Linked DNA regions of Homo sapiens: region 1 is linked to region 2. The links are contacts of gene promoters, found by promoter capture Hi-C in human tissues and cell types (Jung and others, 2019). All regions are on one chromosome and are shown on one strand. The core of a region is centred on a gene start or on the middle of the fragment in contact, and the rest is flanking DNA. Distances in the headings are between cores, read along the strand shown. Region 1 overlaps PTPRF (protein tyrosine phosphatase receptor type F). Region 2 holds the start of B4GALT2 (beta-1,4-galactosyltransferase 2).

The links. Contacts are between HindIII fragments. The study calls those that stand out against the background at their distance.
Region 1: a fragment that was not itself captured here is called in contact with the fragment with the promoter of B4GALT2 in region 2 in 1 of the 25 tissues and cell types used here (H1 embryonic stem cells).

Annotation. Positions count from the first base shown.
Region 1 is chr1:43,582,356-43,589,340 of GRCh38, forward strand. PTPRF (protein tyrosine phosphatase receptor type F) reads left to right here. Exons shown (of 34, transcript NM_002840.5): 8 at 6,376-6,645. Among named protein-coding and RNA genes, the nearest start is that of PTPRF, 55 kb to the left of the region's middle. RefSeq lists an enhancer at 1-159. The HindIII fragment of the contact is 4,012 bases long and covers 2,969-6,980 here.
Region 2 is chr1:43,977,041-43,983,780 of GRCh38, forward strand. B4GALT2 (beta-1,4-galactosyltransferase 2) reads left to right here and starts at 2,170. Exons shown (of 7, transcript NM_003780.5): 1 at 2,170-2,471; 2 at 4,069-4,433; 3 at 4,649-4,884. The coding sequence starts at 4,121. ATP6V0B (ATPase H+ transporting V0 subunit b) reads left to right here. Exons shown (of 8, transcript NM_004047.5): 7 at 1-176; 8 at 941-1,255. The coding sequence ends at 967. RefSeq lists enhancers at 872-1,463, 1,464-2,054, 2,055-2,646, 5,011-5,600 and silencers at 2,064-2,163, 2,434-2,543. The HindIII fragment of the contact is 8,245 bases long and covers 1-6,369 here.

The DNA.
Region 1 (6,985 bases), core at 3,725-6,224, 390 kb before region 2:
TGCAGCTCCACCCACAGTCTAGCAGGCCCAGGCATGCTGGGTGGGCCAGAGCCTTTCTCCTTCACCACCTGACTCTCCCTGAGTGACTCATTCTCTCCTTCCATCTACAGCTCTCTGGGTGTACAGCTGCTGGGGCCAGGGTGGAGCCCTGCCCTCCTCAGAGCCTGGCCTACCTGTGCCAGGACTACCAGCCTTCCCCCTTTCTCTAGGGACCTGGCTGCGGGCCACAGCTGTCTAAAACAGGGACAGTGCCTTTTTCCCCACAGGTGCCCAGACATGCTCCTTACACCGGTGGTGTGTGTGGGGGTGGCTTCTAGTGGCTCCTGTACCTTGGCAGGTTTGTGGGCTGGGTGGGCCTTGACCCCAGAGCCCGGTCCACAGGGTCTGTCTGAGCTGTGGGGTGCGTGTGAGGCATGGGGGCCTGCCTGTGCCCCATTTTCACCTGCCCCGGCCCCACCCTCGGCCTCCCTGGCGCCTGCTGGCGGGCCTCAGCCCTGTCCACCATGTCCTCCATGAGTCCTGAGTCTTTTGTGAGTGATGTGGTTCGTGTGCACCTGTGTGCATGTGTGTGTGCGAGGGGGCACAGGAGTCTCGTCTCGTCTCCGTGCTGTGTGGGCAGATGAAGGTTGGCCTGTTTTTACTCTCTCTGTGTTTCTCCTTGTCTTTTTTTTATTCCCTCCTCATCTTCATCGCACTCTGCCATCAACCCAAACTCTCATCTCTCAGATCAGCGAGAAGGTTGGTCCTTTTCACTTCTTATCCATCTACAGTTCGCCCATCGATGGGACACGCCTGTCAGTAGGGCCCAGCGGGCTCGGTCAGCTCCCTCAGGCTCACTGCGCCGTGCCTGCCTGCCAGTCTCTGTTGTTTGGGCCGGCGGGCAGGCAGGACCAGGGATGGGTGGGCAGACCCCTGACCTGCATGTTCCTGCTGCTTGGGTCCCTGGTGCACCACGTGTCTGCATGTCCCCTTAGCCTGGTTCCCCTGCAAGGGTGGTGGGGTGGGCATGCTGCATGGCATGAAACTGTACCCCACCTTTGCACCCAGGCCGGGCCAGCTGTCTGATCCAGGCGGTGCTCAGGAATGGTTGTGGGGGGCTGTGGTCAGAGAGAGGTGTAAGACCTGTAGCGCTTTGTGTGCACCTGTGGGACCTTTCACCGCCCTCCTCGCCTAGAGACCCAGGCTCAGCCGAAACTACTGGAACATTAAGGCGAGAGGCTAGAGCAGGCTGTCCTCCCAGTATCCTGCAGCACAGGGCAAAAGTCCTGCAGTGTGTACCCTGTCCTTGAGGCCCTCAGGTCCCCCACCAGGGCTTAATGGGGCAGTCAGCCCTGGTCTGCCTCAGGGAGCTTGGTGTCCATGGCGCAGGGTGAGTAGCGTCATCTTGGCACCCTGAGGAAGTCTCCCATAAGGTTGTCTTTTCCTTCTCCAGCCAGATCCAAATTAAGATCCTCCTACCTGCCCCAGGCCCCTCTGCCCAAGCTTCCCAGCTAGCTCCCGTGTCTGTTTGAGGGTGGAATTTAGCCCACCAGCCAGCTAACTGACATTCCTTAGCTTGATGCTTTGCATTCAGACTCAAGTTGCTTCTACCTGGAGTAACTGAACGGTCAGCTGCAACTTAGCAGGATCCATATGGGAGCCTGGAAGTGGCCCCTGACTCAGCCACAGGTTAGGAAGGGTTTCCTGGAGACTGTCCTTGAGCCCATTCCAGAGCAGGTCTGTTTGGGGCTTGGTTTTCCGCCCCACCCTTGGAGCCAGACCCCCACCACTGATGCTGGGGTTGGCAGCAGGGGCTAGTGGTCATTCATGTATCACATGGTCTGTGTGGTCAGAGGAGACTCACCTGTCCATTGGGTTTTGGGGGTTCAGGATAGCAGTGTAGGACAGGCTGAGCCTCAGGGAGCAAACCCAGGCCATCCTCGTTCCCTCTGCCACATCCTCCGTGGCTTGAGTTTCCTCTGTGAGGGTGAGGGAGCCGGTCGAGAGGAGGGCTATAGCCTAGGCTCAGATATCAGCCCTGAGCATCCATCCATATGCACAGCTGAGCACTGGGGCATTTCTGTTACACCATTTTGCTGACCGGGCAGATCTGCGAGGGCGTCCAGAAAACAGTCATCAGCAGAGACAGCCCAGCCCAGAGTGGCTCCTTCCATGCCCCTTCCTCTACCCTCCTGGTCCCTCGTCCCCTCCCTTCCCCCACCCCACCCTATGGTCCCACCAAAAATAAGCACATGGACAAATATTTAGCGGGAAGGCAGACATGAGTTTCTAAATATTCCAGGGGGATTTGCCGGGCTGGTAATTTGTTTGGTGCTGATAATTGCATCTTACATTTTTCCAGCTTTACTTAAAACTGTGTGCCGGGTTTGCCGGCATTTAATTACTGCTCTGCGGCAGCCACAAGGTTATTTATTAAAGAGTTATTTTATCTTGATACAGTGGATCCTGCCCCTCATCCCCTCCTTAATGTTGTGTTATTTTCATCAGAGAAATTTCTCTGAGTGAATGCAGATTGCGGGGCTGCCTCCCCCTGCGATTAGGCTGTCACTCTACTGAATGCTGATGCCTCTGGGCGCCGCACCGCCCTATTATAGGGGGTTGTCAGCGCAAATAATTAGACTTAAAAGTTACAGCTGAAATATAATCCAGAAATGGCAGGGCCCTGTTTTGGAAATTGTCTATAAAATGTCAGCACTAAGGATGCACAGGGAACGGTAATATACTGGCATTGTTGGAGCCTAAGATTAGACCCTGAGTGCATTTTTCCCAGCTCCAGTTTTTCTTTCCCTGCTGTTGCTTCTGTCAATAGACTGTCCAGGGTGAGGCCTGTTCCTTTTTGGAGGCCCTGTGCCTGCAGCAGTGGGTGGAGGATGGTTGGGGCTGCTGCAGTGAGATGCCAGCCACTCCAGCTGTTGGCATGGGGGTGGCTGTCTGGGCAGGTCTAGGATGCGGGTCCCTGTTGGCACTTGGAATACAAGGAGGTTGTCCCTTGCCTGTTTCCCCCACCCTTCCTCTGTAGACATACCCTGACCTCCCTCACATGGAAAATGTCTCAGTCTCAGTAACGTTTCTGCGTGGCTGAAGCCCAGTGTCCTTGTGAGAGTGAAGGTGGTGTGCCCAGGAGCCTCTGGACCTGAGGCCCTTGCTTGGTGTTGCAGGTGACCCTAAAGGCCACTGTTGACCTCTCACACTTATGCCTAGCCCCTAGAGCTCTCCCTGCCCCCTGCATCTAGGAGGGAAAAAATAAACACAACTCTTCTGTGAAGCGCCTCAATTTCCTGACAGCCGCAGGAGTTGGAGGCTTTAGAAGACGTGGCTCAGGGCGTTGGCCTGACCTCCAGGGCTGATCCATGAAGTCCGCCTTTTGGCCTGAAGACCCTGTCCTCCAGGGACAATTTGGGGGTAAAGTCCAGTCAAGTTTCTAGGTTGGTGCCCAAGGTTTATTGGCCAAGGACCTACTTCCTTCTGCTGGGGCTCTTTGTCCTGGTATCCAACGACGTGATTAGGCCCCATGATTCCACCACCGACTGGGGTCAAGCCTGCAATCATGACCTCTCCCTGGCACAGGCTGTCTAAACCCATCCTTACGCCCGCTGGAGCAGCGTCCTCTCCTGCCAGCCTCTGCTAATTCTGATGCTTCTCCCCAGAGCCTTCTGGGTCTTTTTTCAGGCCTGTCAGCTAGGGCTCGAAAGGGTGACAGTTTTTCATCACACAGACCTACTCCTACTACGTATATAAACTTGGTCATGTGGCTTGGTTTTAAAACAGTTCCCTTGACTGTAATTGGCAGGTGATAGCATCTACAGCATGGAAACCTGCACCTAGTAGGTGCTTAAGCATAGCTTCCCTTCCCATGAAGAGGAGGAGACAGGGCACCCACTGGCCGAGAGGACAGGAGAGATTTAGTTCATTAAGGCTGCTCCTCTGTGCTGCCCCCACCCCGCTTCTGTGGCAGGCCTGGACCTGATCTGCAAACAGACTTGCCTGCCTGTGCCTGTCCCTGAGGCCCATCTCCAGAGCAGAGGGAGGGCATGCACCGCTGGGCTGGGTGGTGGTCCTGGCTGAGCCTCCTGCTCTCACCTTGGACCATTTGAGGTGCGTGCTCAGAGAGTCCTTTGTTGCCATGAGACACTTGCCAGCCATGCCCCGGGATCCACCTGTTCTGCCACAAGAACTGTGTCTGTGACATGCTGTCATCATTGGTAGAGACTCCTGGCACTAGAACAGATGACAGAAACCCACTTATACCAGCGTAAGCAAAACAAGGAAGTCCTGTGTTACAAATCTGAAAAGTGTAGTAGATTTGGTGCTGGGCAGGGCTAGATCCAGGTACTTAAACAGGTTGGCCAGTCATTTGTCTGTCTGTTTCTGAGCTCTCCTCTCCTCTGTCGACATCTTTGTTCTCAAGCAGCTTTTCCTGTGTGTTGGGAGAAGCCATCCCCAGCTGCTCTAAGCTTAGCTACCTCAGTAGAGAGAGAAGGTCGCTTTTCTAATAGTTTCTGCGGAAGTCCAAAGGCTGTTTCTCCATAGTCAGATCTGGGTCACACACCCCATGTATGAAGAATGCAGGTAGAAGTGGTTTCCTTAAAGACAATGGGAATGCTCATTGATTTGAGGAGAAAGCAGAACCCTGAATGTCTACAAGATACTCTCATGCCCTAGGTGAACCTGGGGACACAGATCCAGCCCACCAGCACCTGTCAGGCCTGGTCTCTGGGGCTGCCAGGGTTTGGGTTCTGTCTGGAGCACCAGAGTAAGGCAGGCTGTGGAAGGAGTTGAAGCAAGTGCTAAATTAGGTAGGGTCTCTTGGGCTGGGCAGAGGAGTCACTGGGAGCCATGCAGGAGCTTGTTAAACAGGGAGTGGCATCAGATTTGTGCCAGCTGTTTGTGGAGGGCCCGTGAGCAGGAATTGGGGCAGTGGACAACAAGGCAGGAGGACTGACGCAGAACACATTGCAGCAACTCAGGGAAGGATGATGATGGCTTGGACTTTGGTGGTGGCAGTTGCCTGTGTGTATGGAGAGAAATACATGGATTTGGAAGATATGTTATGCCACGCTGTTGACAGGACCTGGTGACTTGCTGAATGTCTGATCTCTGGGTCTAAGTTTTGACCCCTGTATGGTGAGGTCAGACGTTGGACCGGGAGGTCTCTGAAGTTGCTTCTAGCTCTAGTTCTGTGATTTGGGGCTGTGTGAGCAGCATAGTCTGGTGCTTATAGTGGAGATGCTCCTTATGTGGTGCTGTGGGGTCTTTGCATGCCTGGGCCCCCCAGCGAGGGTCCTCAGAGACCAGTGCTCTCAGCAGTGCTCTTGGGTACTGACTAGCCTGCTGCCTGCCGCCTTTGGCCCTGCGTGTGAGAGTGCCCGTGTAGGACACACCCTGGCCTCTGCTCACCAGCTGCATGGCCCATCTGCATGCCAGACATGCCTGCCCACGGCTGGGTTTCATCACCTCCCTTCCCTCTGCATGCTCCTGTGTCTGTGTCAAGCTTCCAACTTCGGGGGCGGGTGGTTCTAGGCTGTACCCTGGACTGAGAAGCTCAGAACAGCTTCTGGTCAGGGGAGTCCAAGGCTGGAGGTCGTGGCCAGGCACAGCCACAGCCACCCCTCCCCTTGAGACCCTTGTTTGTTGGCGCAGGAAGCCGTCTGTTCGGCGCCCTCATCATGTTACTGCCATCGTCATGCCCATCCTGCCCGCAGACCATGTCCCTGGCCTGCCCTGACCCCTGCCCCTCCCCAGTCCTCCTGAGGGCAGCCCTTTTGCTTGGGTTCCCAGGTTGTGCCCTGAGCATGGCTGAGACCCTGGCAGGCGGCCCTGCTGCTTGCCTTATTTCTTCCCCTCAGGCCATGGCCTGGAGGTGGAGGCAGTGACTCCACGGCAGGTGGCTGTGTCCCTCTGGACTGGCCTTCTGCTCTGCCCAGCCATGCTCTGAGGACCCTCCACCCTAGGGCCTGCTTTCTCTCCTTGGTGCTCCAGCCAGGAGCAGGCAGAGATAGGCCCTGGAGAACACCCTGGGTTGTGGTCCTGACCAGGCCTGGACCTTGTACTGAGTCCCTGTGTGACCCTGGGCAGACAGGACCTTCCTGACAGGCCTCAGTTTCCTAGGCTATAAAATGGGAGCTTGGTTGCAAGATCTCTCATTGAGTAAGTCATCGTGCTCCAGACAGTCCCTGAGTGTGGGGGCCACTTCTAGGCTGGAAGTGGGTGGGGTGGGAGTGGATGATGAGCTGGGGTCTGGCGGTGCCACCCCTCCTGTCTCTGAGCATGGGTTTGGCTCTGACCAGAGGGGCTTCCTGAATGAGGGGCCCCTGCCCTTCCATGCAGTCGTGTGTCCTGCCCGGCCTGTGAGTGCCTCTCTCCCTCCTCCTGCAGTGCGCCGCGTGGCTCCTCGTTTCTCCATCCCTCCCAGCAGCCAGGAGGTGATGCCAGGCGGCAGCGTGAACCTGACATGCGTGGCAGTGGGTGCACCCATGCCCTACGTGAAGTGGATGATGGGGGCCGAGGAGCTCACCAAGGAGGATGAGATGCCAGTTGGCCGCAACGTCCTGGAGCTCAGCAATGTCGTACGCTCTGCCAACTACACCTGTGTGGCCATCTCCTCGCTGGGCATGATCGAGGCCACAGCCCAGGTCACAGTGAAAGGTGAGTGTGGCAGGTGCTGTAACCAGTGCCCTCCCTGTCATCTGGGAGGTCCTGGTGGTGGGCGAATGTGAGCTGGCTGCCATGGGCACAGGCATGGCTGAGGGATTCTTGCCCTTTCCTGGGTGTCCCTGCCCTGGGGTCCTCCAGCCCTTAGAGGGAGGGAGGGATTTCTGTTATTAGCCGGCTTAATGATAATAGTTAAGGCATATTGAGTTTCTTGGTGGGAGACATCATGCTAGCAAGCACAGTTGATTTTGTTTTTTTCTGTTTTACCCTGGGAGATAGGTGCTCTTATTATTTCCATTTTTGAAACGAGGGAACCGAGGCACAGAGAGGGTGT
Region 2 (6,740 bases), core at 920-3,419:
GGGCTGGCCTCACCGTAGGCCTGTCTAACCTCTTCTGTGGAGTCTGCGTGGGCATCGTGGGCAGTGGGGCTGCCCTGGCCGATGCTCAGAACCCCAGCCTCTTTGTAAAGATTCTCATCGTGGAGATCTTTGGCAGCGCCATTGGCCTCTTTGGGGTCATCGTCGCAATTCTTCAGGTGATGAATCCCCTTGGGAAGCCTCTGTGTCCTTGTCCCCAACCTAGCCTTACCCTCCTTCTGGAGAAGCTGAAGTGCTCTCCTTCTCTACCTATAACTATAGATTCCCCCAAACAGCTTCCACCTCCTCATTTCCATCTTCTGGTTTTCTCCTACAGGGGCTCTCTATTTTTGTCTCTGATTTGGTGTCACTGACAACAGCCCTGTTCTTTTTCCCCCCTTTCTAATGCGTTGTATCTGTATAGCACTTAGTCCTCCCTCTTTCTGTTCTCTCATTTTATCTGCCATGCTTTTCATGTCTCCAGTCTGTATTTGTGATCTAGACTAGAATGGAATTTTGTCTGTCTATATCAGTCTGTCATGGTGTGTTTGACTGTCTCTCGGAGCTATGTGTATCTCCCTCTCACATGCCTGTCAGTAGGACACCATTGTCTAAATTGTGTGTGTCTAGTCTGTCTGACAGTGTGTGAGTTTGTGACTAAGGATCAGCCTGAGGGTCTGAGTGTGACTGTGGGTGCTTGACTGAGTTGATTCTTAGTGACTAGCTTTATCCATATGCCACTTCTCTCCGTCTGTCCCACAGCGTAACTCTGTGGTTGTCTGTCCCTGTCTGCCTTGTCTGTCACAGTGTGTCCATCCTGGTTAGTCATATATCTCTTGTGGTCTGTCCATCCAACCATGTGCTAGATGTCATCTTCTATCATTTGTCACTGCCTTACCTATTCCTCTGTCCCTGCCTGATTTCTCCTGTTCTTTTTTTGCAGACCTCCAGAGTGAAGATGGGTGACTAGATGATATGTGTGGGTGGGGCCGTGCCTCACTTTTATTTATTGCTGGTTTTCCTGGGACAGCTGGAGCTGTGTCCCTTAGCCTTTCAGAGGCTTGGTGTTCAGGGCCCTCCCTGCACTCCCCTCTTGCTGCGTGTTGATTTGGAGGCACTGCAGTCCAGGCCGAGTCCTCAGTGCGGGGAGCAGGCTGCTGCTGCTGACTCTGTGCAGCTGCGCACCTGTGTCCCCCACCTCCACCCTCAACCCATCTTCCTAGTGTTTGTGAAATAAACTTGGTATTTGTCTGGGTCAGTGCAGCTTCTGTTGCCCTCTTGCGTCACCGTTCACAGAGGAAGGGTAAAGAGGCCTGTACGCCTCAGCCTCATGCCAATCCCTTGTCAGCTTTCTGACTGCACACTTCTGATCTGCACAGAGCTTGCTCCTAGGTGGGGAGGCACGGGTGCTGGGTGGACTCTAACCCCCAAACAGACTTGTTTGGGGATGAGGGAGTGTGCAGATAGGGGCCCCTGGGTGTGTTTGTGCCTGTAGTCCTTCTAGGCCCGTTTGCTCAGGGCTCTGACTGACCACCATGCCCGAATTGTCTGACAGCATCTACTTACCTGGTTGTACAGTCGGGCACCATCATCTCCGTCCTTGTGAGGCCTGGAGCCTAGGCAGTGGTCTCTGCCTCCAGTGATGGTCCTGTCCTTCTAGCAGCAGCCCCTCCCAGAAACCTCTACTCTGATCCTTGTTCCCAGGGCCCAGGGCAGCTCCTCCCACCCCATCCAATCTCGTTTTCTCCTTCCCTGACCCTGTTTCCTGTTACCCCAGAAGCCCCAGCCACCTCCAGCCCACGCCTTTAAGGGTCCTGCCCCCTCTCTGCTGGCCGACCTTGAATCTTGGTCCAATTAAAGAGTTGACAAATCCCTAGCCCCGCAGCCTGAGTCCGCCCAACCTCCAGGTCCCCTTCCTGGGGAGTTCGCGCTCCAATGCAATCCCCACTCCCCGCTAAGGGACTCCACGGTCTGCACCCGCTCGCCGGTCCGACCTCTAAGCCCACCCTTTGGACGAGCCTGACCCATTTCCTCCCGCGCTCCCAGGTCCGTGCCTCCTGGGTGCCCGGGTTCGGCCGCCGGCAGGGCGGGCTCGCAGCGGCGCGCGGCGGGTGCGGGCGTGCTGGAGGCGGGGGCCGCGGGGGCGCGCGCGCGGGCGCGCGGGCCGGGCCTGCCCCTCCGAGGCGCCGTAGCGCGGGAGGGAGGCGGCGGCGCTGTGGTCCGTGGGTCCGCCGGTCCGTGGGTCTGCCCGGCCGCCCGGCCCCGCCCTGCCCCCCGGGGCGGCTCGGCTCCATGGCCCGCGGCGGCGGCGGCGGCGGCGGCGGCGGGAGGCGACCCGGGGGCCGCGGTGGCCGCTGACCGGGCGGCGGGAGGCGGCGGGGCCGGGCCATGGGGGACGGAACCGTCCGCAGCCGCCGGAGCCGGGAGCCCTGCCCAAGTCGGAGCGGCGTCCCCTGCTGAGCCCCGAGCGCCGGGTGAGAGGAGGGCGCGCGCGGCCCCCACCCAGGGCCCCGAGATTCCAGACCCAGCCCCGCGAGGGGCACCCCGAGCGCGGCCCCGAGATCCCAACCCAGGAGCCGGTGAGAGAGGCGCCGGCGGCCAGACCCCGGCCTGGCTGCCCCCACCCCGCCCCCACTCCGGCGCCCCTCCTGGGCTTCTCCGCCCGCGTCCAGCCGGCCTCCCTCATTGTCCTCGCTCGCCCCGGCCTCGTGGCGCGGGGAGGCGTTCCATACACGTTTCCCCTTGGCCTTTGCCTCATCCGCTGCCCTCCACCCACTCCCCCTGCCCCCAGGCTCCACACCCACCCGGTCTGTGCGGCCTGCCCGTCCGCGGGTGCCACGTGTTCAGCCTGCCAGCCCCGCCCAAACGCACCCCTCAGCCTGGCCGCCAGCCTGACCCAGAACCCCTGCGCCGGAGGGAGGGTGGGAATGTCTGCACGTGGGTCTGGGTGTGAGCTGTCTGAGAGTCTGGATGTATGGCTGTGGAAGTCCAGGAGCAGTGGCCTTGTTTGTGAGTGTGGGACTTAGTGTGTTACTGTCACCCGGGTGTGTCTGTGACTGTAGTTCTCTGTGTGTCTGAGTGTGGGTGACCAGCTGGGACCAGGGTGTCCCTGTGATTCTGTGTGCCTGTGAGACTCACCCTGCTCCCTGAAGCACTGCCAGAAGTGGCTGCCGCTCTCTTGGAACCACAGCTGGAGCCATCGCCCAGGCAAGACCCCCTTCCTGCCATGCCCAGTGCTGTGCCCATCTCCAGGCCCAAGCATCCCGTTCCGGGAATCAGAACCAGCTGTGCTGGGCAGGACCCAGAGTCTTGGTCCCAGTCCCAAGGGGCTGGCTTTGAGGTCTTAAGTGAGGGGTGTCCCCTGCCTTGCCCCGTATTTTGACGTTTTGCTCCAGTGGGAAGGGATTCTGTAAACATCCAGTCTGTATTTGGGCCCCCCGGATGCTGAGGGCAACTTCCCAGCCTGGTCCCAGTTGGCCTGGCCTGCTTGTCGCTGGGATCTGAATGACCAAACCACTTCCCACCATGGCTCCTGGAAGGACTAAATGAAGTCATGAGTATAAAGTGCTCCTGCATGGTAGGTGCACAGTATTCCGTCTCTTCCCTCTTCCCCAAGCCATGAGTTCTGGGTTAAGGATGCTGCCATGTGAGGTGTCTGTTCTCAGGGGCACAGGGGCACATGGGGGTCTATAGGTAAACATGTCTCCATGCTTAGGTACAAACCAGTGTGGTTAGAGTTCACGTGTCTGTGTTCCTGGGAATGCGTGAGTGTGTGTGTAGAGTTGTGCAATAAGGGTGAGTGCCTGAGTGTGTGTGTCAGTGAGGTGGAGGAAGGTAAATGTATGTGGCTTAGTAGTGGGGTGTGCTTGAGGATGTGAGTACTGAGTTGCCGGGAACTGTGCCTGGGTGTCTGTTTGGAGGTAAATTCTTGAGTCTGTGAGTGTGAAAGGGTATGAGCAGGTCAGTGTGAGGTGTGGCCCACGAGTGTGAGCAGCTGAGTGGGAGGTAGGTGGGCAGCCTTGCCTGTCCTGCCCTGACCTGCTGGATCTGTTTCCCTCCCACCCTGCTCAGGCCAGCAGCCGGATGCCCGGGCCCACTGGGCGGGCCAGTGGCCGCCTGCGGGATGAGCAGACTGCTGGGGGGGACGCTGGAGCGCGTCTGCAAGGCTGTGCTCCTTCTCTGCCTGCTGCACTTCCTCGTGGCCGTCATCCTCTACTTTGACGTCTACGCCCAGCACCTGGCCTTCTTCAGCCGCTTCAGTGCCCGAGGCCCTGCCCATGCCCTCCACCCAGCTGCTAGCAGCAGCAGCAGCAGCAGCAACTGCTCCCGGCCCAACGCCACCGCCTCTAGCTCCGGGCTCCCTGAGGTCCCCAGTGCCCTGCCCGGTCCCACGGCTCCCACGCTGCCACCCTGTCCTGACTCGCCACCTGGTCTTGGTGAGCCTGGAGGGTAGGGCCTGCCTGTGGGGAAACAGGGTTTTATTGGTTTGACTAGAGAAATGGCATCTGGACCCAGGGGTGTGCCAGGGGTCCAGGTCTGTTGTAAGAGGGCTATTCTTGGGGTTCCCTAGCCCACCCCCAGGCTGAGGGTGGGGGCTGGTATCTGTGGATTCTGGCCAATGCCCTGATTCCTGACACTGTCCTGTCTGCAGTGGGCAGACTGCTGATCGAGTTCACCTCACCCATGCCCCTGGAGCGGGTGCAGAGGGAGAACCCAGGCGTGCTCATGGGCGGCCGATACACACCGCCCGACTGCACCCCAGCCCAGACGGTGGCGGTCATCATCCCCTTTAGACACCGGGAACACCACCTGCGCTACTGGCTCCACTATCTACACCCCATCTTGAGGCGGCAGCGGCTGCGCTACGGCGTCTATGTCATCAACCAGGTGCCCATGCGGGGGTCCATGTGCCTGTTGGTGTATATATGTGGGTTGGGGGCGTTTGTGGGTCCTTGTCTGCCCGTGTGGATATGTGGATGGACCTGGGCGTGGGTAGTCGGTGTTTGTCAGTGTGCACAGGAATGTGTACGCACAGTGTGTGCATGTGAATGTTGGCATGCACACTGGCAGGTGTGTGCATGGTCTCAGAAGGGGTTGAGCCCCACTCTCTACCCTTGGCAGGCCTCACCCCATGGTGGTGCAGGCCTTGGGTATGCTGTAGGAGGAGATGTTGAGGGCCCTGAGGAGAGGGAGTTAGACCCTGAAAGAAGGATGAAGCCTGTAGAACCCTTTGGGGTAGGTGCCAGCCACAGCTGAGGCCAGGGCACTCAGCTCAGCATCTTAAGGCCTTTGGTGGACCTGGCTAGGGCTGGCCACTAGGTCCCAGAAGGGACCTCTGATGCAGGCCCCCCCGCCCCCGCCGACCACAGAGACCTCCTAGACTTGGACATGGGTCCCTCCCGTATGATGGGACACAAGTGGAGGTGGAGCAGGGGGCCGTGGGAGCACAGAGGGCCCCAGTCCAGCCCTGGGGTTGGGAAGCAGTTGCTGAGATGGGTCTTGCGGGATGAGCAGGCATCAGGGGCTGCAGAAGCCAGCATTCTAGGCAGAGGGACCTGGAGGATGCAGGGCCAGCAAGATAACTGGCCTCGTGTTCACGAACTATTGGCTGAGGTGTGGTGTCCAGCATGTGGACTGGGTAGCAAAGATGAGGCTGGAGGAGTTGGAAGTCAAACTGAGAAATGTCTTGGGAGGCATGCTGGCAGTAAGTCCAGCGCAAAAGTGACAGGGCACCATGTAAGGTTGTAAGGAGAGAGTGACTTGCGTGTTTGCTTTGTAGAAAGGTCACTCTGGTTGCATATGGAGCATGGATGGAGAGGGGAGATTAGAGACAGCGTGGCCCGTTTGGAAGAGAGGACGATGCCCAGGAAAGAGGCGGTGACCCTGCGGATGTGTGGGGCGGGAGTCGCGGGGAAGAAGTGGGGTTGTTACGCAAGTAGTGGAGAGTGAGAAAAGAGCGACGTCAGGACAGCGCAAGGGTTTCCGCCTTGGCTGTTGGCTGTGGGGATGGCTGTGTCTGAGTGAGATGGGGACACAGGAGCTGGGCCAGCTCTGGGGGAGTGTGACTCTGAATCCTTTCTTGCGTGTGATGAGTTTGAGCGCCTGTGGGAAGTACATGTTTAGCAGGCAGTTAGACAAATGAGTCTGGACCCAGAAGGGAGGTCTGCAGTGGAGAGAGGGATCTGGGAGCACCAGGATGAAGACGGTCTGGTCCCTAAAACCAACAACGTCTGACCTGCCAGGGAGCAAGGGGCATGAGAGGAGGAAGCCAGCACTTCAGGGATGGAGGGAGAAAGAGGCCGCTACAGAGGCCGAGAGGCTTGGCCAGAAGGGCTGGAGGAGACCCAGGGGAGTGTGGGATCCCGGAAACCCGGCAGTCAGTGTCAGGAAGGAGACATGGCAGCTGCATGGGCACTGTGGGGGTGTGAGGAGGGATGTGGACCAAGACTCGTCCAGTGGATTTAGCAACAAGGTGGGCCCAGCGAGAGCCATTTCAGGGGCATGGTGGGGGCGGAAGCAGATTGCAGTGGGTTGAAGAAGGAATCGGATTTGACGAAATGGAAATAACCAATTAGAGACAACTCTTTAAAAAAAAATCCCTGCTGAGAAGGGAAGGCAAAAGGTAGGGTGGTGGCTGGAGGGAGGTTTGTTTTTTCAGTTGGGAGAGGATTGAGCATGTTTATGAGCCATGTGGGAGAGACACAGGGCTCCTGGCTGGTGAGAGGTCAGAAGGAGTGCTGCTG